Linked DNA regions of Homo sapiens: all the other regions are linked to region 5. Evidence: promoter capture Hi-C in 16 types of primary human blood cells and fetal thymus (Javierre and others, 2016). All regions are on one chromosome and are shown on one strand. The core of a region is centred on a gene start or on the middle of the fragment in contact, and the rest is flanking DNA. Distances in the headings are between cores, read along the strand shown.

What was found. The method cuts DNA at HindIII sites, captures the fragments that hold promoters and counts their contacts. A CHiCAGO score of 5 or more calls a contact.
Region 1: a contact is called between a fragment that was not itself captured here and the fragment with the promoter of SMNDC1 in region 5, in 1 of 17 cell types (naive CD8 T cells). The highest score is 8.5, in naive CD8 T cells.
Region 2: a contact is called between a fragment that was not itself captured here and the fragment with the promoter of SMNDC1 in region 5, in 1 of 17 cell types (naive CD4 T cells). The highest score is 5.9, in naive CD4 T cells.
Region 3: a fragment that was not itself captured here is called in contact with the fragment with the promoter of SMNDC1 in region 5 in 1 of 17 cell types (total CD4 T cells); the score reaches 6.6 in total CD4 T cells.
Region 4: a contact is called between a fragment that was not itself captured here and the fragment with the promoter of SMNDC1 in region 5, in 2 of 17 cell types (naive CD4 T cells and non-activated CD4 T cells). The highest score is 5.8, in naive CD4 T cells.

Annotation. Positions count from the first base shown.
Region 1 is chr10:112,149,352-112,154,353 of GRCh38, forward strand. GPAM (glycerol-3-phosphate acyltransferase, mitochondrial) reads right to left here. Exons shown (of 22, transcript NM_001244949.2): 22 at 514-4,315. The coding sequence ends at 4,199. Among named protein-coding and RNA genes, the nearest start is that of GPAM, 32 kb to the right of the region's middle. The HindIII fragment of the contact is 807 bases long and covers 1,949-2,755 here.
Region 2 is chr10:112,168,977-112,174,330 of GRCh38, forward strand. GPAM (glycerol-3-phosphate acyltransferase, mitochondrial) reads right to left here. Exons shown (of 22, transcript NM_001244949.2): 7 at 4,723-4,869; 8 at 3,994-4,090; 9 at 3,206-3,342. Among named protein-coding and RNA genes, the nearest start is that of GPAM, 12 kb to the right of the region's middle. The HindIII fragment of the contact is 3,436 bases long and covers 1,262-4,697 here.
Region 3 is chr10:111,594,441-111,599,804 of GRCh38, forward strand. No RefSeq gene overlaps it. Among named protein-coding and RNA genes, the nearest start is that of HEAT2, 480 kb to the left of the region's middle. The HindIII fragment of the contact is 4,017 bases long and covers 1,668-5,364 here.
Region 4 is chr10:112,185,027-112,190,370 of GRCh38, forward strand. It overlaps a transcript of GPAM not described here. Among named protein-coding and RNA genes, the nearest start is that of GPAM, 3.9 kb to the left of the region's middle. The HindIII fragment of the contact is 2,247 bases long and covers 2,093-4,339 here.
Region 5 is chr10:110,303,581-110,309,021 of GRCh38, forward strand. It overlaps SMNDC1 (survival motor neuron domain containing 1), which reads right to left and starts at 1,340. Exons shown (of 6, transcript NM_005871.4): 1 at 1,168-1,340; 2 at 1-7. The coding sequence starts at 7. RefSeq lists a silencer at 852-1,171. The HindIII fragment of the contact is 6,895 bases long and covers 1-4,647 here.

The DNA.
Region 1 (5,002 bases), core at 1,102-3,601, 1.8 Mb after region 5:
CGGACATCATCAGCAGGCACACGTTTACCACCGTTTCTAGAAGGAACACTCTGGAGATCAGGCTGTATTTGAGAACTTTCAAAGAATCCACAAAATCTGTGCTCTGATAAAAGAAATAATTTTCTTGTCAAAAAAGTAAACTAATATTGTTTGAGCAACTGTGATAAACTAGTGGAGAAAACACTTTTTATAAACTTAAATATGTAAAAATATAACAAAAAGCACCAAGCTTAAAGAAATCTTTACAAAAACCCACAGAATCTCCCTAGAATATGAATATTTACTAAATAAAAGGAGAGCAATAGCTAAGAAGCAGACCTACATCTCCAAATGCTTGATCAAATTTGGAAAGCTGTGGGTCAATAATAAAAGCATGAACTGTAGGTTCATACATTTATGTAAGGTATCGTTAAGCATTTTAATAAGTTGCTATATAAAGTCAGAAAACAATAATTGTTCGTATAATGAATTATGTAGGAAACTGTTTTAAATACAAATCAAACACATCAAGAGTATGTTCAATTTTTGGTTTATTAAAACAAAACTACATTTTCTGTGTTTCTTGCAATACACTAACAAGCATAAAAATCAATCAGCATTTCCAAGTATGTTTTGCTCACAAAATCGCAGTTATTTCACAGTACCTTATAGTAATTCTTTTCACGAGTCTTAACATTTCTTTGTACAACAGGCAAATAGTTTAATACCTTCCATCAAGACATTTCAGAGCTCTAGACGTTTAGAAATAAGGTCAAGAATCTCTTTCAAATGCAATCATTAGTTTGTATTAAACTAAAATGCCAGACGGCAAGTCTCAGGTTTCTAAAATAGTTTTAAAAAACAGGTTTACAGCCCATAGTAAGTCTTAGAAACCTCAACGATAGGTCCTGTCATGTCTAAACACTACAACTATCTGTGGATAAAAATCTGCATTCAAACGTACAATACTTTCTTCTAGATCTGAATTAAAACCTTATTTACCCCAATTCATCCATGTATTCTGATACGTTCAGTGAAAAAGCCAGGATCATTGGGGCTGTTCTCTCTATCAAAGGAAAGAGCTCCGATCACCTACATTATAATTTTCTGTGCTTATTTTCTGCAGGGGAGGAAATACACATCTATTCAACGCCACACTGGACGTTACAAAATGCATGCATATTCTGCCCCAGTGCTATCTGTTCATTACCGTTTTGTCTCCTTAAAGAACTATCTAACATAGTGTTTCCCAAAATGTTCTCCACAGGACATTAGTGAGAGGTTCATAAGTATCCCAAAGGAGAAAAAGGTCCTGGTGTCAAAATAGTTTGGGCAATGCTGGGTTAGACAGTTTTTCACTACCGGATGCCAAGCCCTTACTGCGCTAAAGTGCATTGTAAGTTTCCAGGTGCAAACTTGGTTTCCCAGCAACACCATTTCTATAAAACACTGATGAACATCTCACAGAGCACTCATATTACATGGAGTGCTATGGGAAATGCTTTTCCCCATCCAGGTTACTGGCAATTCCACAATTTGGGCTTACATTCATTGTAATCCCAGAAATATTTTCTCCATTTACCCTCATGACTTTGTGAAATTTAACAGATTCCAGAAGGAAGACTCGAAGCCATCTCAGTTAACAGTTCTACACATTTCCCACTAGTTTTTGCCTTTGTTTTTCATGCATTTTCAGAGTGCACAACTTCCCTCCTCTCTTCTGAATCACTTAGGACATTCTCATTTTCAAAAACAGACTGCAGTTTCATGTTGTTTAATATTGTTTTTTTTTTTTAACTTGACCACAGTCTTCCCCTGAAGAAGGGCATGCATTTCATGTTACAGAAATGCGATAGAGTAAACTGTAATAAATTATTTACAAGCACCTAGTTTGTTTAACCTTATGTGGAAGCCATCACTGTTGGAAAACAATGAGAATGTATCTTTTAGCAAAACGGTGCTATCTGGAAGCTTCATTGTGAAGATGCTTTCGTTTTTTTGTTTTTTGTTTTCAGTCATGAGGCACTGAAGAATGAGTTGTGCTGAAATTAACTCAAAGGTCAGCTTGTCTGGATGAGCATAACTTTGGTTGAGATTTTTCTCCCTTAAAAAAGATTTTCAAAGCACCAGTTAATTACAAAAAGCATGCATATTTATCCTCACAGTGAGTTAAGTGGTGAGAGAGCTAGCAAATCATACATTGCATTCCCCAAAGCATCTGAACGTACTTCTAGAAAACAAACCAACCAAAAGGGAAAATAATGCAAGAGAAGCCGTATTTTCTTTGCTTAGGTTGGCAAAGCAGCAGCTCTTTGCAGCAATGACAGGCAGGGCAGAGTGTCGACTGGGAAGCGAGTCCCAATCTTGAATAATGGTGAGCTTGAGTAATCCTTAATTTACAATTTAAAGGATGAAAAAAAGAGACTAGTGAAATGTTTGCTTCCCCAGATAAGGAACACCCAAGACTCCCTGGGTATCCTCCAAATGTAGCCAAGAAAAGTGTTCTTCTACCCTAGTCAGTAAAATGGAATGCTAAAACATGATATCTCATTCAACATCAGAGCTACTACAACTGACAATGACTTCATGGTATACATCAATTCCTATAAAGAAAAAATATATTTTAAATGCAGAACTTGAGAGGGATCACAACAGCATAGCATTATTGCTATGAGTTTCAAACATGGTATTTCATACAATGTGAAATATCAATCAGCATCCCTCCCTCTCCCAAAACACACATTACTCATGAGATACTATCAGTGTTTAAAATCCAAGCTTATGGAAGTACAAACTTAATTCTCAGTACTTTTATACTAAATTCAAAGAATCTATGTAACACTCATCTGGAAAAATTCTTAATTCCATAATATCTTGGAGATAAGCAACAGTAAACTGTTAGAAAACGTTTTAACATTACATGATATTTAAAAAATCACCATAATTACCATAATAAACCAATAATTATGCTCCCTGCTCACAAAAGGCACCTACCAATTATGAACAGACCATTTTTCATAATTATTTACCACTATGTGGCATAAGGGTTTAGGCATATAACCCATAAAAATTTGTTAAAAGTCATGGTTTTTCCTCAAAGCTAAAAATCCATAAATGCCTCTAACCATTACCAGTCAGTAGGGCCACCACATGCATATACTGGACAGGTTGTGCACGGCACAACTCGAGTGGGTACCAGTCACCTGGACTGGGGTGCAGTACACAATCTGTGTGCAGTACAGAAAGCCCTCATCAGCTGTGGCCAGAGAACTGTATTCTAACAGTCTGTCAGCTCAAGCTAATCAAGTTAGGAAAACTGCTATTTGGTTGGAGGATTTCCAAGAAACAGCTGTACCTGTGAGAGGCAGGTATTACCTGAGGGGTGGACGAGGTACAGACATAAAACAGGAAGGGTTCTAAATATATTTGCTGGTCATTTGAAACTCAATGGCACTTGTTTATATGAGCAAAAGCCTTCAACACCAGTTTTCTGGCCAAGTTTCCCTAGAATTTTGCCAGCCAAATTAACTTCCTGATGTTAACTATTTGATTACAATATCTCAGTTCCCGACCTAAACTAATATTGTCTGTTTTCACATAGCTCTTAAAAACATTTCTAAATCTGACAGCAAAGGACAGCACAGTGATACCTGGGTGTGATATATATCAGTCCACTCAATTTATAAAGCACTTTGGGATAAAAGGTGCTCCCATTAAAAATGTAGCTACTATTGACAGATAAAACTGAAAAAGAGTGAATGGATGACTCAATTATTTTTAAAGGAAGCATTAACCACTAACCAGATAATATACCAACAAATTACCCAGCAGCACTAAGTATACCATGTAAGATTCAGTTCCAGAACACAGCTACATTTCTGTGTCCATCACAGTAATTAGTCCTTAAAAGTTGTACTTAAAATGTCAATCTTTAATAAACTCAAAAATAATTTATTGAGATTTCATCTTGTAGTCTACGGATTATGAGTTGCGAATAGAGGCTGAGGTCCCCCCAAGTGTTATCTGCAGGCTGCTGTGTTGATGCAGAGCTGGGAAGATCACAGATCCATGGAGGGAGAAGGCACTTGTCTTCCAGGAGATCACTTCGGGACAGGGCAGGCCTGACCCTGCGATGGCACCTTCAACTCTTGAGCCAGAAGCTGGTACCTACAAGGAACTCATCTCATGACCTTCATTTGCCAGCAGTGCCACACGTTACCTACAGCACCACAAAACTCAGAATATATTCTAGAAGTTTTTGTCGGTTGCATTGAGGTAGAAAAGTGCTGCTCAGTTCTAAAACAGACACTCTCTTTTGTTTGGTCTCCTTGAAAACCTAAAGAAAAGGTTTAGATTAAATTAAAGGCAAAAAATAAAAAATAAAAAAAATTTCCATTACCAACCTGACCTGTGGTGTCCTAGACCTCAGAAGGCAGTAAAGGCACAAAAAACCATATCCTGGCATTAAGTAAATGTATGCCTGGGTGTGTGTGAGCATGAGGTGGGAGTTTCCAATGCAAACAAGGTTTTCTTTTTCTATTTTTTTTTTTTTGTTTTGATGGAGTTCAACCAACATTAACTATATTCTAAAATTTCAACCAACATAACTATACTCTAAAATGACTTAGAATAAAGTCACAAACAGTCCCTCACAAAAGGCCGCTAGTATCTCTATAGAACTTACATTCCCCATGAATCATGAAGGTAAAGGACACCTGAGGATACTTCTAGAAATTCTTGTAAAAATACAAGAAAGTAACTAAAAATCATATGGAATAATTAAGAGCCAAGATTGTGGTCCTAATCCCAAAATCAAAAATCTGAAGTACTCCAAAATCTGAAAGATTTTGAACATCAATATGATGCTCAAAAGACATGCTCATCAGAGCATTTTGGGTTTTGGATTAGAGACGCTCAACCTGTAAGTCTAATGCACATATTCCAAAATCCCAAAAAAATCTGAAATCCAAAACATTTCTGGTCCCAACATTTTGGATAAGGGATATTCAACCTGTAGCACCTT
Region 2 (5,354 bases), core at 1,730-4,229, 1.9 Mb after region 5:
ATTTACAAAGAAAAATGTAAAAAGAATACTCACATTCCAAGTTAATTGAAAACATTTGCCAAGTGGATACAAGCCATATGTGCCGTTTGAGCAGCTGACAGTAAAAATGCAGGCATTTTTTTCATTTTCCATATTATCGACATGTTTCAGTCATTTACATTGTTCATCAGTCTTTGGGATATCACTGTGTATAATGAGCCTCTATTATATCTGTTCCAAGCCAAAAGGAGTTTGCATGACATATTACCCGTAAAAATGATAGTATAGATTTTAAGAGGATTATAGAACACTTCTAAATTTTAAAATCCTGCCCAGGGTCTCAAGACACTGACCCTTAGACATTCTGAAATTTGCGCATGGCATGTTTACTACAAAATGAATATGATGTTTATTACGAAAGCTCCTTGGGGGAAATTTTCTCAAATAATTATTGTTTACAGAGGATCCTTGTGAGACAAAAACAATTTTATCCAACTGAAACCAAGCATAACCATCTTTCCAAAACATGAAACAAAAATGTGCTTCATTTGCACATACACAGGCATAAAACGATTCTTTTCCTAACCCTATGTCTCTTTCTACAACACTAATTTTGATATGAAGTTGAAACTGTCTAAGTCAATCTTTCCAAACTCACAGCCTCCTATTCTTTTCAAGTAGAGTGATACTAACATAAACATTAATATATATTTTTGGTATCCTCTACAGCAGTGGTCCCAAACCCCGGGGCCACGGACCAATACCGGTCCCCGGCCTGTTAGGAACCGGGCCACACAGCAGGAGATGAGTGGCAGGCAAGCAAGCAAAGCTTCATCTATATTTACAGCCATTCCCCATCACTTGCATTACCCTCTGAGCTCCGCCTCCTGTCAGATCAGCAACAGCATTAGATTCTCATAGGATAGGAGCGCAAATCCTATTGTGAACTGCACATCTGCCCATGAGGGATCTAGGTTGTGCATTCCTTATGAGAATCTAATGCCTGATGATCTGTCACTGTCTCCTATCACCCCCAGTTGGGACCGTCTAGTGATTCTACATTATGATGAGTTGTATAATTATTTCTTTATATATTACAAAGTAATAATAATAGAAATAAAGTGCACAATAAATGTAACATGCTTGAATCATCCCAAAACCATCCTCCCCACCCCCATGGTCTGTGGAAATTGTCTTCCATGAAACTGGTCCCTGATGCCAAAAAGGTTGGGGACCACTGCTCTACAGTAAATAGAAGGAGGCCACAGTAAGGTGTTGCCAAAGCTTAGTATCACTCTTTGAGAGTAAAACTCTGCAGAATAAAATGAATGAGATGAGCCATCCACAAAAATAACACCTGAGAAGTGGTTTGTGAATGGGTAGACTGTCATGTAACAAAAGAAAGCTGCACAAAAACAGGCTGGGCTAACTACAGCCTGCTGTGTCTGAAGGACAGGTGAGCTACACAGTCACTGGCATAGAGTCCATGAAAGGGAAGTTGGATTACAAAAAATTATCAGTGTTTATTAAGCAGTTCCAAGAAATCCTAATTGAGAACCAAATGTGAAGGAAATGGGTATAGGAAATATTCTAATTACAAGAGAAGCAAGGCTTCTCTAGAGCCCCAGTGGAATAGTCCTCTTCCCTCTAAGTCTGTGCCCACCAGAAACTTCCTGATGACTTTCTAATTCAGTTTCCCGGTTCCTTGTTCCTGGAGAGAGGTCCCCTGGAGAGCAAACACAGATATTCTAATTCCTGGAAAAGCACATCTACCCTGTAGAATCATATCACACGCTATTACAGCTAGCTGTCTGTCTACATTATCCATTAAGCTATGTGAAGGCAAGGACTATATATTTTGTTCTCTCTTGTCTAAAGCACAGCTGGATAAATATCACTGACTGCATGAATCCATGGCTTCTCTTCAGTTGGGTCACAAGAGTCTGGTTAGCTACAGAACTCTGAAAGCCTATAGAACTCTGAACCAAGGGATTAAGAAGGAGCTCCTTAGACTGTGATACTGAGGACACAGCACACAAAGGTGACGAAGGCCATCTTGTGAAGCTCCACCTGCACAACCTGCCAGCCCACTTTCCTTCCAGTCTCTTTCTAAATTCATGCTCCTTTTATCCACTCTCTACCCACAGAGCTGACCTTAGAGATGCTTTGTCCTTTCAGGTTTGAAACTTTTAATTTCCCAAACCAGCTCAACCAGTTCCTCACCAATTCTTTGTTGGTGATCAGACCTACCACCTACCCAGTTTCCTAGGTGGTAAACACCTGGGAATCTTGCTCCTTCCTCTCCCCCTCTATTGAGCCCCCATAGGGACTAGCACTGGGTCTTTAAATTCGAGCTACTAAGTACTTTTTAAATCTATGCCCTCCTGTCCAAAAACAATACTACAATTTAAACCTCCATTATCTTCTGCCTGAACTATCCTAATGGAAGCAGAATTGATTTCATTCTTTCTAATCCAGAATGACCTTTCAAAATACAAACCTGAACATGTCATTTCTCAAGTACAGGACAGACTCTAATCTCTTGGCTTAGAAATTGTTTTGATCCAGCTTTCACTACCTACACAGCTACCACCTCCAGTCTCTGATCCTTCCTAATGCATCCCATATTCCCACCTTACCCAATTGTCCATCACTTCCCAACCATACCATGCTCCTGTATCTCTCCGCATTTGCACATACTATTTCCCCTGAATGGAACGCATTGAGGAAAACCTCTAAAAAACCTTTCAAAAGGTGAAAACCTCTAAAACATACCTTTCACATGATATTGTACTTTTTAAGTGGTTCTAGCTCTACTAAATTATGAGGTCAAAGTAACAGGTATGGTTGTCTTTATATCACTAACCCTTCTCCCACTTCACTGCCCCCTCCTCCACCAAACAACTCCCTACTGCTGAGCCTGGTATGGTAATTTGCTATCTTGCCTTTCTAATTGCCTTTTATCTATTTGATAAACAATGCCCATAAAGTTTAGGTAGTCACAGTTCACCAAGTATCCCATATAAAATATATAAATAATGATGATAGTCTTAATGCATTTTTGCACTCTCCAAATTTTACACAATAACTATGTATCACTTTTATAATAAAAGAAAAAAGGCTAATGTCATCTTTACAATAACATATCGAAAGCTATAATTTAAAAAATTAAAATTCAAAACATAATCTTTTTAATTCCTTAAATTCCAAAATAAGCTCATCTTACCTGAAGATTGGGATGTTGAGATTATTGCCTGAAGCAATGTATGGTGCTTTGATGTTATGGCAGAAGAGAATGAAAGTGAGCAGCAGATAGTCAATATGGGATCTATGAACTGGTAGAAACAGAAGCGGCAAATTCGTCTAGCAAAGGGAAAAATGCCAAATTTAAAACTCAAATGTAAAATTCAATCACACTTTGCAACTGCATATTTGGCTAGAGTCACTCAAACACTGGCTAATCAGTGACTCACTCTTTAAAAACATTTTCCAATAATAGGAACTTCCTTCAATGTAATACTTTCTGAGCTAAAAAGAAAAAGAGCAACTATAACAACAGAAATAAGTTGGGGGAAGAAGAGCAATCAAGAGTTCCAGTTGACCTATACCCTTTCTGAGAAGCAGCTCCACTGATATAAAAAGAGCACAGGTTTTGGAGTCAGGCTTGGTTTGATTTGAAATCCAGGGCAAGTCACTTATTATCTGCCACTTGAGACAACCTATTTATCTATCTGTGTCTCTATTGCTTCATCTACAAAATAGGGATTGTTCTACCAGATTTTCAGGGTTGTTGCAAGGTAACTTACAAAAGGAATCCTGCATATTGCTAGTAAGTACTCCTGTATCTCATTTCTCCTCCCCAAATACACAGCTATTGAAGTTATCATAAATGAGGGAAATCTTCCAAATGGGTTGAAATACATCACAGTACACAAGAAAACATTTCCACAAGAACCCTAAAACCACTCTACAATTGAGGGGAAAATGGGGTAATAGATTCACAGAAATTCTTGCCTCAGTTGCAGCTTTAACCATCTCAAGTTGACCTTTGTGAATTTGAATGTTCCAAAAGAAGCTGTTGAACAGTTTTAGCAGCACCCACCCAGTCAGTCTGAAACAAAGTACAAACAAAAAAAACAACATAAATGAACACACGTTATTTTTACATACAAGCACATACAGTTGACTTCTGTCTACTTAAATTTATGGACCTACAACCTCAAAGTACTTGTAAATGACTTAGTGTGTGTGCACATGCATGCACGTATGTCTGAATTGCTGAACTAGAGCTAATTTTATATATATATATACTACTTACAGAAGTATCCATTTATTATAGACTACAGTCATAGTTCACTCTAATAACATTTTATACTGCAGAAGCAAATGACCAAGGCGAATGAATATTTAGTGAGCAGAATGATCCCTCTGATGTACACAAACCACTCCTTTTATGACTCAGATACGTGAAAGTTGATTCACAAGCAGTCTAGGTGAGCAGATGTTAGTAGTAATACATTGGCTGCTATCAATTAACAGATATGAAGGCACCTTCAAGCCTACCACAGTGCTACTTTGCACGAAAGCTGAATAAGAATATAAGAAGAGTTTAATTTAATATCAGGATTCATTAAAACATCTTTTGGACAAAGAGAACTGTGCTAGGAAAGTTCAATAATTCAGTCTTATTTGCTCAAATCAGCATGGCTGTGATTGAAAGCTTTCTGCCTTGCCTTTTAATACCTGATCATTGCCGGTGAGACAGTGGCAACCATTTCTTGAAGAATCCTTTTAGCTTTCTTTTTCACTTTGTTAACGGCTTTTGATTGCTGCTGGGCAGAACCATCAGGGTTTAATTCAGCAGCCACTTCTGCAATTGCCTCTTGTACTCTGGTATGAAAATGGAAAAAGAGACAATGTAATTGTTTCTATACTACATTCTGTATTCAGTATTTTCTAAACTGCAGCTGTAAATCACAAAACAAAATGTATGTTCTCTTTAAAATGCGGTAACATGAAAGAATAAGCTCAAGCTAGAAGTGCTCTTTCTGGCTATCTATTAAATATTAAGAATACTATATTCCTAAATCAATGAATCTCTGAGGAATCTGGAAAGCAGACTAAGAATTTAATTCAAATTTACTGGGTGAATTTGAATGTTCCCATTAAAGTATGAGGGACACGAAATTGTACTCTAGCAGAAGAGAGAAAAAGAAAGGTTATCCCTTTAGGCATATAATTCAGAGGTATCCAAAAGTCTACTACCAAATTAATGTGTGATTTTTCTTTTGAAGACTTAATTTACTTTTAATTTGTATTGTGACTCCATTAGTAAAACTATATGTAAAACTCTGGGAGGGACCAAAAATGGTCAT
Region 3 (5,364 bases), core at 2,426-4,925, 1.3 Mb after region 5:
GGTGGTCAACTTGGCATGGAATAAGCAAATGTTTGGGATACACTTTAAGGATAGCAAATTCATTTTGACTCATTCATTCATTCAAAACAAATCAATAATTGTTGAGTATCTACTCTGGGCTAGGAACTGTGTTAGTTGCTACAGATACAATGATATGCATGATAGACATGACTCCTGCTGGAACTTACGGTATAGGGATCACGTTTTAACATTTTCAGCTAACTCATTCTGCAATTTTCTTCATGGTCACAGCCCAACAAATGTCCTCACAAGCTAGACATAGACACTTTTATAACCAAAGAACACAGAAATTTATTCTTTTTATCCACCCTATAAAGTGCAAACTCTATGGGCACCAGCCTAGCAATTTCACCTATGGTTACAGAATCCCAGTGACTTAGTGTCTCTGCAATCATTCTCCCTGGGTTTCCGGAGAAGGGAAAGTAAATGGTAGACTTTCAATCTTGTTTTAGGCCTCGAGTTTTCCAAAATCTGTTCTCCAGACTGTTTTGTTTTTAATTAAAATTTACATAGAATTGAATGAGTTAACTTTTGGAAATCCACTAACAGAGTGCCAGCCATGCAGTAGGTAGTAATGTCAGTTAGCGTCATTTTACCGAAAATAAAGCTAGTTATGTTTCATTTGTGTTAGCACTCCCACCTCTTTGCTGATCCAAATAAAACCTCTCAGAGGTACACAGCAAAAGAGAATTATAGACACCATCTAAATGTGAACTTTTGCCCACAGTTTTGCTTGGAAGTGAGCAGGTCGATTTCTTATACCCTCATTAAAGCATTTCATATTCTCATATTTGAGGAAGGATAACCTGCTGCAAAGAGAAGAGATGAGAACAGGTAGAAACATGCTTGCAGATGATCAATGTGCCTGGGATTTGCCTGTGGCTTAGGAAAGGCCAGAAGCCAGGGCTTGGTCTAACTTTTAGCCAGTGAACACACCTTTTACTAGTGCCTGGTCATTCGTCTACTCAGCAGTTGGAAACCACCTCCCTCCAGGAGCCTATTGACAAACCACAGCCCTCTTTTCCAGTTCTAGGGAAATGGGCAAAATGTAAGGAACAAAATGCTGTCTGCCTTCTTCTAATGCTAGAGCCATCTCGTGAGCCAAAGAGCCAAAGAGGGTGACTTGTGAATGCACTCTAGAAAAGCAAAGTGAGAGCTGTTATGGAAAGAGTGCTAGACTTGGAATTAGAGTTCCAGTCATAGTCCTGTTTCTTATTAGCTACATGACCTCACACCAATACACGTGCTTCAGATGTAAGACTTCTAATCATGGGTGTTTGGAGCATACTCTGCCTTACTTACCTCACAATGCCACAGTCATGGTTTTTTATGAATAATTTCAAACATGTATAGTACAGAGAACACCTATATACTACACCCAGATTCAACAGTTTCCTAGATTTTGCCACACCAGTATCAGACATTATGCCTTCCTTTCTTGGCTAAGTGTTTTTAAGCAAATCTCAGAACTCATGTCATTTAACCACTCTATACTTCAGTATGCATTTCTATAAAATACAGACATTTTCATATATAACCACAATGCCATCATCAACTCTAGTCAAATTAACAATAATTCTGTGATTTGTCTAATTATCCATTATATTCACATTTCCTGATTGTAACAAAAATTTCATTTTATAGGAAGCTTGTTCAAAACAGTATCCAAATAGGATTACACATTGCATTTGGTTATGTCTCCTAGAATCTTTTCATATAGAGCAGTGCCTTCCTCATCATTTTACTTTTTCATTCTACTGTCTTTTAATTTGTTTCTGTAAACTTCATGTTTGTTAATAACAACACTTTTTCTCTGAGGGTTCCATTATAGTCATGTTTGACCTTTCTTCCCAAAATTACATCATACGGGATGCCATGTATTTTATCTTCCTTCAAGTGGTAAATATTTCTGGTTTATTCACTAGAATAAGTATTACTTAAATTAATCAGTGGGTTCAAATGGTAAAAGCCTGACCTTTCATGGAAAAATTCTCCATTCATTTTTAAAAATGTCTTCATTCATTGAAAATCTTTGCCTAAATTATTGATTCTTATTATAAGTTGCAAAATGATAATGTTCTAATTCTGTCACTTCTTCAACCCTTTACATTTATTAGGTGGAATTCCTCTATAAAGAAGTAGTTTTCTTCGTCAACTAGGGCTACTTGGTCATATTGAAATACTGCTTATCCAAGAAAGAAAAAATAAATGTTTAATTATTTCCCTTTAATTTTCAGAGTGAGGTTACTTCCAATGTGACCAATGAGTCTTTTTTAATTTGGGGGGTTAAGGGCTATCTTTTTAAAAAAACTATTATTATAAACATGTATATTTTTGTAAATTCACAGAGGTGTTCCTCAGTTAATTTGTTCTGATGTTCAAATTGTCCCATCTTTGGTCAATGAGTGACCCTTCAAACTGTTTCGATGTCCTTTTGATGTAATTCCATTCATCTTTGACTACATCTTTGCTATCTGCATAAAAAGATGGCCAATGCTCATCTTATGCATTTCCTGTCTCAGATCTGGAATTAGTCATTCTTCCATGGATTCCTAGTTCCTTTTAGTGGGACACAGTCGGTTTTTGAAAACTGGGATCATGAACATGAAAGTGTAAACACTAATGTGCTGGATCCTGGTTACTATTAGCTTCCACCGTGCCACACTCTCAGTGTCTGCCAGAGCAGATCTTTCAGTTGACTGATTTTTCCCTTTCATCTCCTACATGCTATACCTCCTGCCATGAATTTCAATGCACACAATAAATATTCCTTGTGATGAGGACTGGGTATAATTCACCATTGAATCTCCAGGGCCTAGAACAGATCCTGAGATATGCCAGGGTGCCCAAAACTTTTTGTTGCATGAATACATTTTTCATTCTAAGAAAACTTTCCTGCCTCCCATCTTTCTGAATCAATTACTTTTTAAAATTTTAAATTATAATTTACATCTCTATTAAAGTTTCTAGCACCTGATACACTGGCACAGAGTAGGCATGCAATAAATATTATTAGATAAATAAATGAACATATGATGTCATAACACCAATCTTTTTCAAATCTATCAGGGCTTCCTCATTGCTCTTGCATACATTTTAAATTCCTCAACATGGTATACAAGGCTCTGCATCATCTGGTCCTGACTATCAATCCTTTTAGCCCCATCTTCTACAACTTTTCTTATTGCTCACCCAGCTCTAGCCTCACAGACTTTTTTTTAGTTCTTTAAAAGTACCTCATTCCACCCTGCCTCTGGGTTATCACATGCTCTTCCCTCTACCTGACATGATTCTCATTCTTCTCCTCTCCCTTCTCCATTCTGCCCACTTAATTCCAGCTCCTCTTTGGATATCCCCTTATAATCATCTCTTCTAGAAGGCCTTGTATGACTCACACGCCTCCAGACCTCCTTGCTATATGTCCTCATAGCAAGGATGTCTTGTTACTTTATTACCATGGTATTTATTATACTAGTAATGTGTTATTACTTGCTTAATGTCTATATTCTCCACTAGGCTGTAAGCTCTATCCAGGCAGTGTGATCTAACACTCTATTCCCCATTTCTCAATAGGTGCCCAATCAGTACTGGCTGAATCAATGGATATTAGATTCATTATTAGTAGATGGTAAGCTCCTGGAATACAGGAACTATGCTTTTTCCATCTTCATATCCTTTTGAGCTTCCAGAATGATTTGAATTACTAGAAGAGATTTAGGAAATGTTGATTGAGTGGCTAGACATTGTCCCTAATCAAGGCATTTAGTTGCCCTAACTGTGCAGAGAAAAGCATTTCCTGGCACAGCCTACCACTCCAGTCCAGATTCTGAGTATGAAGTACTTTTCCTCCTAATGATTTGCAATGTACCTGTATGTTCACCTCCCCCACCATCAGCTTTAGACAAATCACAGTGCCAAAGAGCCAGCAGCTGGAAGGGTGGCCTAAGGAGATTGCCACGCTTGGACTGGTTGCATTTTTCTTTGTGCACCTAAGAACCGGTATTTAATCCATATGACCCTGCTCTACGCCTAGGACAAGGCTGAGTGCAAGCTGGGGGAAGAACCCTGCTCTATCCAGAATGATTTCACTGATAGGAAGCCATGCAACTGCATTCCATGGGTCCCTTTCAGCCGCCGCTTAGTAACAGAACAACTCCATAACCAGTTACAGCCATAGCCGGGAGGGGAAAGTCTAGTGCCACCTACTGGTTACAAGTCAGACTGCCTTGCTTACATAACAAATATAGCCTCTATGAAGGGCAGGCATTTTGAATATCTTGTCAACTTTAGTGTGAACTTTTATTATAGAAAGAACTATTCCATTTCATTTGGGACAGGGTGCTCCTTAGTGGATCAGCATACTTGGAATCAGTCAATTGCAAAGTCAGGAATAAAGGTTCTTAAAAAACTGGCACAGTAGATTTAAGCTAATGGTCTAGAAAATTTCATATTGAGAAAGCAGAATTTATTTCTGGTGGGGATAGGATGGGGTGGGGAAGAGTAGAGAAGTCTTCAGTGCATCCATTGGTATCTGAATAACTACCCATTTGCAAACACAGTTACTGGCTAAGAGACGGTTTGCACAATGGCTAATACCTCAGACTTTAAAATCAAGCAAATCTGGATTCAGATTTCAGCTTGGGCACTTATTAGCTGCGTAACCATAGGCAAGTTGCATAACTTCTTTGAGCCTCGGTTTTTCTCATCTGTAGAACAGAAGAATAGTACATAGTACCTACCTTATAGGATTTTTGTAAGACATAAGCGAAGCTATATATATATATATATATATATATATATATATATATATATATATATATATATATATATATATATATAAAGCACTTAGCCCACTTACTCCAGTAGTGCTTATTAAGGTAATTTTAAAAATTGTTACTTCTATAAGAAAACTTCTTAGAGCATTATTTTGATATGACTTTTCCAATCATTTACATAAAGACACAAAAGACACAGCTCAGACTCTCAAAGAGCTTGCAGACTAGCTGGGAAAACTAATACATAAACACCTAACTGGCGCACAACTGGACAGCTATTCTAGTTGAGCTATGAGAAACAGAGGAGGGAGCAACGAAGTCTGTTTAGGTTGGGAGAAGAGACACAATAACTGAGTGGGTTCTTGAAAGATGGAGAGAACCACACCTAAGATGGACAAGTGAAGGGAAGAGCAAGAGTAAGAGCTTAGAGGCATGAAAGTGAAGGGCATGTTAGGAAATACAGAGTTGCCTGATGCAACGAAAGAGAACTTTAGGTGGGATGAAGCTCAGTGTATTCAAGTCCCCAGAAGAAGGCATAGTGGATCAAGACGAGTTGGCAAGAGTAAGA
Region 4 (5,344 bases), core at 1,966-4,465, 1.9 Mb after region 5:
GGACCAGAAATAGTGCCTGATCCTGGCACCCCGACTGGAAAACCTCATAATTCACAACTCAAATGGTTTTGCTTCAGTAGTGGGGCAAAATTAGCTCTAATGTAAAAGCTACTCTGATTCTATCTTAGAAATCTTAAAAGCCAGCCACCAAAGGATTAAACCGTTTTTGAGAACAAAGTGTCCCAGAGCAAAGCACAAGAATATTTACAGGAAATTAAAAATAACCAACACCTAACAAGGTAAAATTTGCAACATCTGGAATCCAAACAGAATTATCAGGCATGCGAAAAGAAGCAGGAAATGAGAAAAAAAAATCAACCAATTGAAATCATCCCAGAAATGACAGAGATGATAAAATAAGAGAACAAGGACATTAAGAAAGTAATTATGACTGTATTCAATGTTTTCAACAAGTAGAAAAAATAAACTGAGCATGGGAAGTAGAGATGTGAAAAATCTTTAAAAAAAAAAAAGACACAAACCAAACATCTAGGAGATAATAAAACCACATCTAAGATTTTTAACACCCTAACACACACACACAGACACACACACACACACACACACACACACACACACACACACACACAGGATTAATAGGTTAGACATTACTAAAAAAGAAACAGTAAAAAACCTGACGGGAGGCTGAGGCAGGAGAATGGCGTGAACCCAGGAGGCAGAGCTTGCAGTGAGCCAAGATTGTGCCACTGCACTCCAGCTTGGGTGACAGAGCGAGACTCTGTCTCAAAAACAAAAACAAACAAACAAAAAAAAACTTGAAAGCATTGTGATAGAAACTATCCAAAATGAAACACTAAGGGAAGAAAAATACTGAAAGTAAAAGTAGAGTATCAGTGAGCCTAGTATACATGCAATTGTAGTCCCTGAAGAAAATGAGAAATATGAGGTGAGAATAGATTAGGGAGGACAGAAAAAAGCATTTGAAAGAATAATTGATGAAAACTTTCCAAATTTGACCAAAACTATAAACTTATAAACCCAAAAAGCTCAACAAACTCAGTAGAAACATGAAGAAAACCATACCAAGAAACATCACAATCAAAATGCCTAAAGCCACTGATAAAGAGAAAATCTTAAAAGCTATCAGAGAGAAAAAAAAAGACATTACTGTACAGAGGAACAAAGATAAGAATGACAGCAGATTTCACATCAGAAAAATGCAAACCAGAAGATGGTGGAGCAGCATCTGAAGTACTGAATGAAGAACCTATCAATCAAGAGTTCTTTTTATATTAATATATGGTATGTACATTTTATATATTTTTATATATATCAAAAAAATAAAATAAAAACATATTTTGACATCGAATTGCCAAAAGAATTCATCACCAGCAGGACCGTTCTATAAGCAATGTTAAAGAAAGTCTTTCAGGCAAAAAAAAAATGCTGTCAGATGGAATTCTGAATCTATGCAAAGGAATTAAGAGCTTAAGAAACCACAAATACGTAGGTAAATAATTTTTCTTATTTTTTAAACCCTTTTATTTTAATTTATTTTATTTTATTTTTGAGATGGAATCTCGCTCTGTCACCCAGGCTGGAGTGCAGTGGTGCAGTGGCGTGATCTCAGCTCACTGAAACCTCCTCCTCACAGGTTCAAGCAATTTTCATGCCTCAGCCTCCCGAGTAGCTGGGATTACAGGCACCCGCCACAACGCCCAGCTAATTTTTTTCTGTATGTTTAGTAGAGTTGGGGTTTCACCATATTGCCCAGGCCGGTCTCGATCTCCTGACCTCAAGTGATGCGCCTGCCTCGACCTCCCAAAGTGCTGGGATTATAAGAGTGAGCCACCATGTCAGCCATTAAAACTCTTTTAAAACATGATTGCTTAATGCACAAACAAAAACAATATTTTGTGGGGTTTATAACATGTACAAATAAAATGTATGATGACAACAGCACAAAGTCCAGGAAGGGAGAAGTATTCTGTTGTAAGATTCTTATCTTACGCACCAAGCAGTATAATATACTTGAAGGTAAACTGTAATAAGTTAAAAATGTATACTTTAACTCCTAAAGCAACTACTATGAAAGCAAAACTAAGAGTTATTGTTAACACATCAACAAAGAAGCTTAAGTCGAATTTTTAAGATGTTTAATGAATTCAAAAGAAGGCAGTAAATGATGGGGGAGAAAAGAAAGAATAGATAGAATAAAGAGAAAATACATGGCAAGATGATAGATTTAAGCTCATATAAGTAATCACCCTAATTAAAAGGCAGATATTGTCAGACTGGAAAAAAAATGAAGATCCAATGATATGCCACCTATTTAAAAACTCACTTTAAATATTAAGACAAGTAAAAGTAAAAGGTTAGAAAACAGTATGCTATACTAATGCTAATCAAAAGAAATATAGGTGGGTATATTAATATCATATAATTTCAATACAAAGAATATTATCAGAAATATAGAGGATCATTTTATAATGATAAAAGGGTCAATTCATAATGAGGACAAACTGATTCTACATATTTATTCCTCTAATACAGCACTTCAAAACATATAAATCAAAAACTAATCGAATTGCAAGAAGAAATTTTAAAAATCTACAATTGTAGTCAGCCATTTCAATACCCCTCCCCCAATAACTAATAGAACTGTGGGTAAAAAATTAATAAGGATGTAAAAGGCTTGTACAATACTATCAACCCAACTTGATCTAATTGACATTTATAGAACATGCCACCCAATAACAGGAAAATAAACATTCAAGTGTGCACAGAACATCCACCAAGATAGGTCATATTCTGGATCATAAAACAAGTCTTGATGCACATATAAGGATCCAAATCATAAAACATATACTCTGAGCACGGTAGAAATTAGAAACCACTAACTTAAAGGTATTTGGAAAATCCTTAACTATTTAGAAACTCACATACTTTTAAAAAATCATGCTGTAAAAAAGAAAAATGAAAATTTGTAAGTACCTTGAACTAAATGATAATGAAAACACAATATATCATACTTTGAGGAATGCAGCTAAAACAGTACTTAGAAATTTATGGCACTAAAACACCTATACTAGAAAAAAAGAAAGATCTCAAATTATTTATCTCAGATTCAGCCTTAAGAAAAAAGTATAAATTAAACCCAAAATAAGCAAAACAAAAACAGAAAATAATAAAGGGCAGATATCAACGAAAGCAGAAAAATTTTTAAGTAGGAAAATAAAAAACAATTGAAACTGAAAGTTAATTTTTTGAGAAAATCCATAGAGTTAATGAACCTCTAGCCAGATTCATAAGGAAAAAAGAGGAGGACACACATTATTGATATTAGGAACAAGAAGAGTGACAGCACTACAAATTCTGTATACACAGTAATACAGCCTTTCATTACCCAAGCTAGTTGCCTTTTGTTTTCAGGGTGGTGTACCAGATGTTAGATTTCCTGTCTTCATAAGGTGAGTCTGATTAGATCCTATAAAAAGCTGGTCCCACCCATTGTACCAGCAGAGAAGCTATTCCCTCTCTGTTTCCCTCTCTATGATTTTGTTCAGGACAATCTCCTGGCCAACTCTGAAAATATAATGAATTGTGATACCTAAGCCAATTATGAAAATGGCACACACCCTGTGTTTGTGAAAGTAATGCACATGTACCTCTGTGTACATTGCATTTTGTTTTGTTTTGCCATTTTCCAGATGTTCGAGGTATTTTAAAATCTTTGTTCTGCCATCCTACATATTGACCAGTATACCTGCTACATTTTAACATGGCTCATTCTCATGATGATGCTGCAAGATATTATGATCCTTAATTTACAGATAAGAAAAATGGGCTCAGAGTAATTAAATAAATTGCCCAAATCAACCAGACACAAAGCAGCACAGAAGGGATTTGAACCTAGGCCTTTCTCATACTAAACCTCATATTCTTGACAATAATTCATGCTGCCTTCCTAATAGTCCCTGTTCAGAGGCTCCCTTTCAGACTGATCCAGATTCGTTGACCAAACTTCCCTGGGTGCATTTGTTCAAGTAGCTGCAGATCTACCCATGTATAATAGCATTGCTCTACAAGAATATTGTAAGGACATTGTTAACTGACTTGCAAAAATCTAATGATAAAGTATCTATTAAATTCCCTTATATAAAATATAATGATTGTTCTATCAAGAACTTTTAAAGGAAGTAGTTTGGCATGAATTATTCTTACTGGATTCATGCTCTTCTCATTATGACCTACTTTTCTTTGGGCTGCTTTTGTTTATTTATTTATTCAGTATATATTTATAGAATATCTACTTCACGCCACCCAACCTATTGTAGAGACAGCATTGAACAAGACAGCACCACACTTCCTCCCTTCAAGCTTATAGTCTAGAATATTTACACTACTCCTGTTTAATCATTGTTTCAAAAAGTTTCAAAAATCAGCATCAAGTTCATTGACTTGTGGCTTCCAGAATTCACTTCCCTACTTCCAGCTGATCTGGGGCACTCACTGAGACCTACCTGTTCAAGACGTATTTCTACTCTCTGATTATATTCAGGGTGATCTCTTGCCTAGCTCTGAGAAAAGAATGAATCAAGGTATCTAAGCCAATTATGATAATCTTGTTCCCTAATACTGCAACTATCCTTCTAGCCAAGATGGTCACATGACCCAGTTCTGGGCAATGTGAACTGAGAGCAAGGCAAACTGAGGGTTCCTGAAGTTTTTCTTTCCTAGTAAAAGAGGACACAGCTGGCACCGCTTCCTTTTCCGTTTTGTTCCCATTTGCTACGTAATTCAATATCCAAACCCAACACCACGAATCACACACCTCTGGATTTTGCCAAACCTCTACCTGTGTAAGCCATTACAATGTTGTCTTCTGTTACTCTCGGGTAACATTCCTGATTGTCACTATGTAGGTTCATTTTAATGAAATGGGCAGCTTAGACCCCTACTGCAACACATCCCAAGCCCAGTTTATTTAAACAATTAATCAAAAACTTTTTTACTGCCTACCTATACTCTGTAAGGAGGATACACTCTAGTCCCTGTTTTTAGAAATTCAAGATTTCATTGGATAAAATAAAATATGCACAATTAAATAGCTGCAAATAAATAAATATATTTCTAATCATATTTGAGCCTGGATCTCATTGCCAGAATGACTCAAACATTCTAAAAAAATAATAAAAGAGAGAGAAAATATCCAGAAATAGTCCCTACCAGTGTATCGCATGCTGAGGGGTGGCAGTGAAGGTGACCTTAGATTCTGCCTTTAAGAAAGGGTCTTTCACAGGGTCTAGAGATCAAGACCATCCTAGTCAACATGGTGGAACCCCGTCTCTACTAAAAATACAAAAAATTAGCTGGGCTTGGT
Region 5 (5,441 bases), core at 90-2,589:
CTGACATCTAGGGAAAATAAAAAGGGTTAGACCATGAAAACTAAACCAAAAATCAAGGCATAAAAAACTAACTCCCCTGTCTGCCTGAATTACCAGTTTTTGCCTCTAACTCCTTCTAACACTGCAGCTTAATTTACCACCATTACCTTTACTCTCAGTTTAGACTTCAGCTAAACCACAAACTTAAAGGCAACAGATTCTGAGGATTATAAACTTGAGATACATTCCATACTTTAAAAAAGCATACAGATACAAAGAAATTTCTAATTTTCTTTTAACTCCTATCCACAGGGTAGGTGCTGAATTCGGCTCAATAATCAGTGTTATCTTTTTAAAAAGCACTACTCTGTTGGAAAAGTCGAAACTTTCAAAAACAATCCAAATACTTATTTTTAAGCACTACAGTATGCTTCCAAAGCCAAACAAGTGCGTTTTTAAATTAACTACACAAACTACGATCTTTACTTGAACTATTCAATTAAGAGTGTATTTAAAAGTGCCTCTCCAAAACAAAAATCTTTCGCCCAGTCGCTTAAATATTTATCGGTGCATTATCTTCAGCAAAAAGAACAGCACAGGTACTCTCCCATTTAGGCATTCTAACGAATGTGCCTTTCGCCAAATCCAGCTCAGTCATTTTCCTGAAAATAAGATACCAATTAACCTTTTTTGATGGTTTATAAGCAAATGTACCACGTTTCCGAGGACCCTTCTCCTTCGTAAAATTCCCGTCCAACCAAAGGCTGGGAGCCTGCAAAGGCCCCCTAAGAGTTACAGCGACCCAGGCTGCTCTCCTCCCCGCCACGCAGCACCTCAAAGCCCGCCACAACTCGATCATTCGGACGTGGAAATCCACACGCCAGCTCCAAGACCACCGCCGGAGCCCCGCCGCGCTCCAACAGGCAGGCTCCACAGGGAGCCGCGCGGCGCCCAGCCCCACCCGACCCGGTCCCCTGCGGGCCGTGTTTGCCGCCGCCGCACGGAGGCCAGCGCCGGCCGGGCCGCCGAGGCTCAGCTCTGGCTGAGAGACGGCCGTGGCTCCGGGATCCAGGGCCAGCGCCTGGGCGTCTCCGGCGAGGCGGGCTCCTCAGCCTTGGGCCTCCGCTTCACCTCGGGAGGGACCCGGGCCCGGCCAGGCCTTACTCTCTCCCTCAGGGGGGTTGTTACCTTGTGTGGGGCTGGGGGCGGGGCGGCGGGAAGGGGTCGGGGCAAATGAGCCCAGTGGTAGTGGCGGTGGCAGCAGCAGCAGTAGCAGTAGCAGGAAAATCACCGCGACGACAGCAAGGCGACCCGGTCTGAAAAGGAAGAACTCGGTCGGCGGCGAGGGGGAAGGGAGGAACGCCGGGCACTGGAAGGAGGAAAAGACAGAGACGGTGAAGTCTCGCGAGAAATACAAACTCTCGCGCGAGGTCGCTCGACTCACGTGACTCCGCGCGCCCTCTAGCCAGTCCCTGGCTGTCAGGGACACGAAGTAGGCGGGGCCTAGGAAGGAAATGGCGTAGCTGGGCTTCGCCAGGCGCGGAATGCAGGTTATCTTCCTGGAGTTCCGGCTTGGAATTTATTGGAAATGCAAATTCTCAAGCCCCACCCCAGACCTCCTGAATCCAGAGACTCTTGTTTTAATAAGCTCACCAGATGATACCAATGTCCGCTGACGTTTGAGAACCACTGCTTTTCCGGGGCGGTGGTGGTGGGTGGCGGGGGGTGTTGGTGGGGGCTCTCTTTACGTTGCCCTGGCTGGTCTCCAGCTCCTGGGCTCAAGCTATCCTCCTGCATCGGCATCCCAAAATGCTAGGATTACAGGCGTGAGCCACCGCGCCCAGCCTGAGAACCACTACTTTATATGATACAAGCCTTAGTAGTAACAGAAAGCTAATTAAATCGTGACAGAAATAACCTATTGGAGAGAAGATTGATTTCTTTAAAATCTGTTTTGTTAAAACCTACTTGGTTTTAATTTAGTTGGGTTAATCTCGCCTGATAGGGAACAACGTCCAAGTTAGTCTAGAATGGTAAAGAGTGGTAGGAATACTCACATTTGTGTTCAAAAAGAAATGCCCCTTGTGTATGTTTGTAATAATATATACGCTTTCTGGACGGATACACAAAACTGTTCAGAGGTTTGGAGTGGAAGCCAAATGTTTTATTGATTACCCTCTTTGCTGTTTACCCTTTTTCCTTTTCTTTTTTTTTTAAACCATATATATATAATTTATTTCAATTAAAAAAGCAATAAAGGCCTGAGACACAAAGTTTTATATAGATGACAGGAAGCAACCTTTCCTGGGAGGTTGGGAGTTTGTTGCTGGATCCATAAAAAGGCCCACTTCTCGCGGATCACCTGAGGTCAGGAGTTCGAGACCAGCTCGACCACGTGGAGAAACCCCGTCTCTACTAAAAATACAAAAAAAAAAAACCAACAACAACAACAACAACAAAAAGCCGAGCATGTTGGTGCATTCCTGTAATCCCAGCTGCTCGGGTGGCTGAGGCAGGAGAATCGCTTGAACCTGGAGGCGGCGGTTGCGGTGAGCCGAGATCGTGCCATTGCACTCCAGCCTGGGCAGCAAGAGTGAAACTCCGTCTCAAAAAAAAAAAAAAAGGCCCACTTCTCAGATGGGCTCTTTTGAACTGTGCCAACATCTTTAGTTCCTAGTTTTCTTTTCAAGGAGCCTTCCCTTTTGTTCTCTACACACACACACATAACCCTTGCAGTGAGTCAGATAACCTGTATAGATGGAAACTAGGTCGGGTTTGTGAGTGTGAAAGATTGAAATTGCAGCAGAGGGCAGCAGTGTGTAGCTAGAATTAAGAAGGCAGACAAAACAGAAAGCATGTGCTTTTAAATAAATATTCGTTTAAAATAAAATGTAGTTTTAGAGAACTTCTGTTATTGTAATTGTGTGTTTTAAGAACCGATGCGAGGAGGAACTTCCTTGAATATAAAGTCAACCTTATTGTGTAAAAATCTCTTAAATGAGAACTTTTCCTGAACCCCATAGATCAGAAAATAGGCAAATATTCATTATAAGTTCCATCATAGATTTCTATACCATCTTAATAATTTTTTCAGGATTGTTTTTAGGATTGTTTTTATCTATGCAACATTCATTTATAAAGAAAAGCTATATTGAATTTTAATTTTCACAAAGAAATAACAGTTTGTATGTGCCAGATACCATTCTAAGCACTTTACACAGGTTCATTTAATTTTCACAATTGTATGCGGTGTTGCTCCAGACAAAACTGGAGCAGACAAAACTAAGAGCAATACTTCAAATAGGCTTTCTGAATTACTATTTCCTTTGAAGTGTCAAAATTTACTTTCAGTGTCTGATTTTTCTTAAAACATTTGCATTCAAACTTAATCATGTTTATTTAAAAAAAAGTATCTTAAACCTTTAGTTTTGAAACGTGATATTTATTTTATTGAAAGACAGTAAATAAATAAAATGTAAAGGCTCCAAATTGTCATCAGAATATACAGCTATTTCCTTTCTACTAAAGAAAATTAAAGTATGGCATGATGGCACCCAGCTACTTGGAAGGCTGAGAAGGGCATCCAGAAGTTTGAGGCTGCAGCACACACTGACTGTGCCTGTGAATAGCCGCTGCATTCCAGCTCGGGCAACATAGTGAGATCCTGTCACAAATTTTAAAAAATTAATTTTTTTTTAGATGGATTCTCCCTCTGTCACCCAGGTTGAAGTGTAGTGGTGCAGTCTCAGCTCACTGCAACCTCCACCTCCCTGGTTCAAGCAATTCCCTTGCCTCAGCCTCCCAAGTAGCTGGGATTACAGATGTGCGCCACCACGCCTGGCTAATTTTTTTGTATTTTTAGTAGAAATGGGGTTTCACCATGTTCGCCAGACTGGTCTCGAACTCCTGACCTCAGGCAGTCCGCCCGCCTCAGCCTCCCAAAGTGCTGAGATTACAGGCTTGAGCCACAGCGCCTGGCCTAAATTAAAAAAAAAAAAATTAAGTATAGCTCTTTGGAAATGTGCCAGCCCACTGTAAAGCAGAAGAATATGCAATAAAGTAATACATGTTGGTCAAATAGGTTTTTTTTTTTTTTTTTTTTTTTTGAGACTGGGTCTTACTCTGTTGCCCAGGCTGGAGTGTAGTGGTTTAATCTCAGCTCGCTGCAACCTCTGCCTCCCAGACTCAAGCAAACCTCCTGCCTCAGCCTCCCTAGTAGCTGGGACTACAGGCATACACCACCATGCCCGGCTAATTTTTGTATTATTTGTTTTTTGCTAGAGACAGAGTTTCGCTATGTTGCCCAGGTTGGTCTCAAACTCCTGGGCTCAAGTGATCTGCCCACCTTGTCTTCCCAAAGTGCTGGAATTACAGGGTGAGCCACCTCCCTGGGGCAGAGACTGCATTCTTTATCTCAGCTTTTATTGTATCATTTCCTGACTAAAAGTAGCCCCAGATTTGGCCGCGTTTTTTCTATCTTGACCAAATGCCAAAGGTGATGAATTAGAGTTGTGTACATAATCATAGTAATTGTTTTATGCTCCTTTCTTTAGTCCTAATAAGTGATTTGAATCTTTGCATAATTTGCTGCAGGACAAGCTACTTGCCTTTTTGTGCTTATTGAGTGTTTTTGGATACAGTACATGGAACACATATATCCTGGGATGAAGCTTAGGTGGCATCATCCATTTAAAGTTGATGGAAAACAACCTGAAAATGGTGTTGGTCAGCGCAGGTCTTCAGATGTTCATCAGTCATAGCAATCCTGAATTGTTTGCTTAAATTTGTATTGCACTGCTAGCCTTAGGATGTGCATTTCAATTATTCTGTATTTTACACGTACCATTGAGGAACAGAAGACTGTACCACTAAAAAACAAAAATATGCCACTAAAAACGGAAAACGAGAATTTCTTCAGGTTGAAAAAGATTATAGTCTAAGGCTTTACAGGATAAGAAATGTCAGGCTTTGTTTGTTTGTTTGTTTGTTTGTTTGTTTGTTTGTTTTTTGAGATGGAGTCTCTCTCTGTCGCCCAGGCTGGAGTGCAGTGGCACAATCTTGGCTTACTACAACCTCCACCTCCTGGGTTCAAGCCATTCTCCTGTCTCAGCCTCCTGAGTAGCTCAGATTACAGGCATTTGCCACCACGCCTGGCTAATTTTTATACTTTTAGTAGAGACGGAGTTTCACCATGTTGGCCAGGCTGGTCTTGAACTCCTGACCTCAGGTAATCCACCCCCCCTCAGCCTCCCAAAGTGCTAGGATTACAGGCATGAGCCACCGGGCCTGGCCAGAAATGGCAGTTCTTTTTTTTTTTTTGAGACGAGTCTCGCTCTGTCGCCTAGGCTGGAGTGCAGTGGCGCAATCTTGGCTCACTGCAACCTCTGCCTGCCAGGTTCAAACAATTCTCCTGCCTCAGCCTCCCAAGTAGCTGGGACTATAGGCGTATGCCACCATGCCCG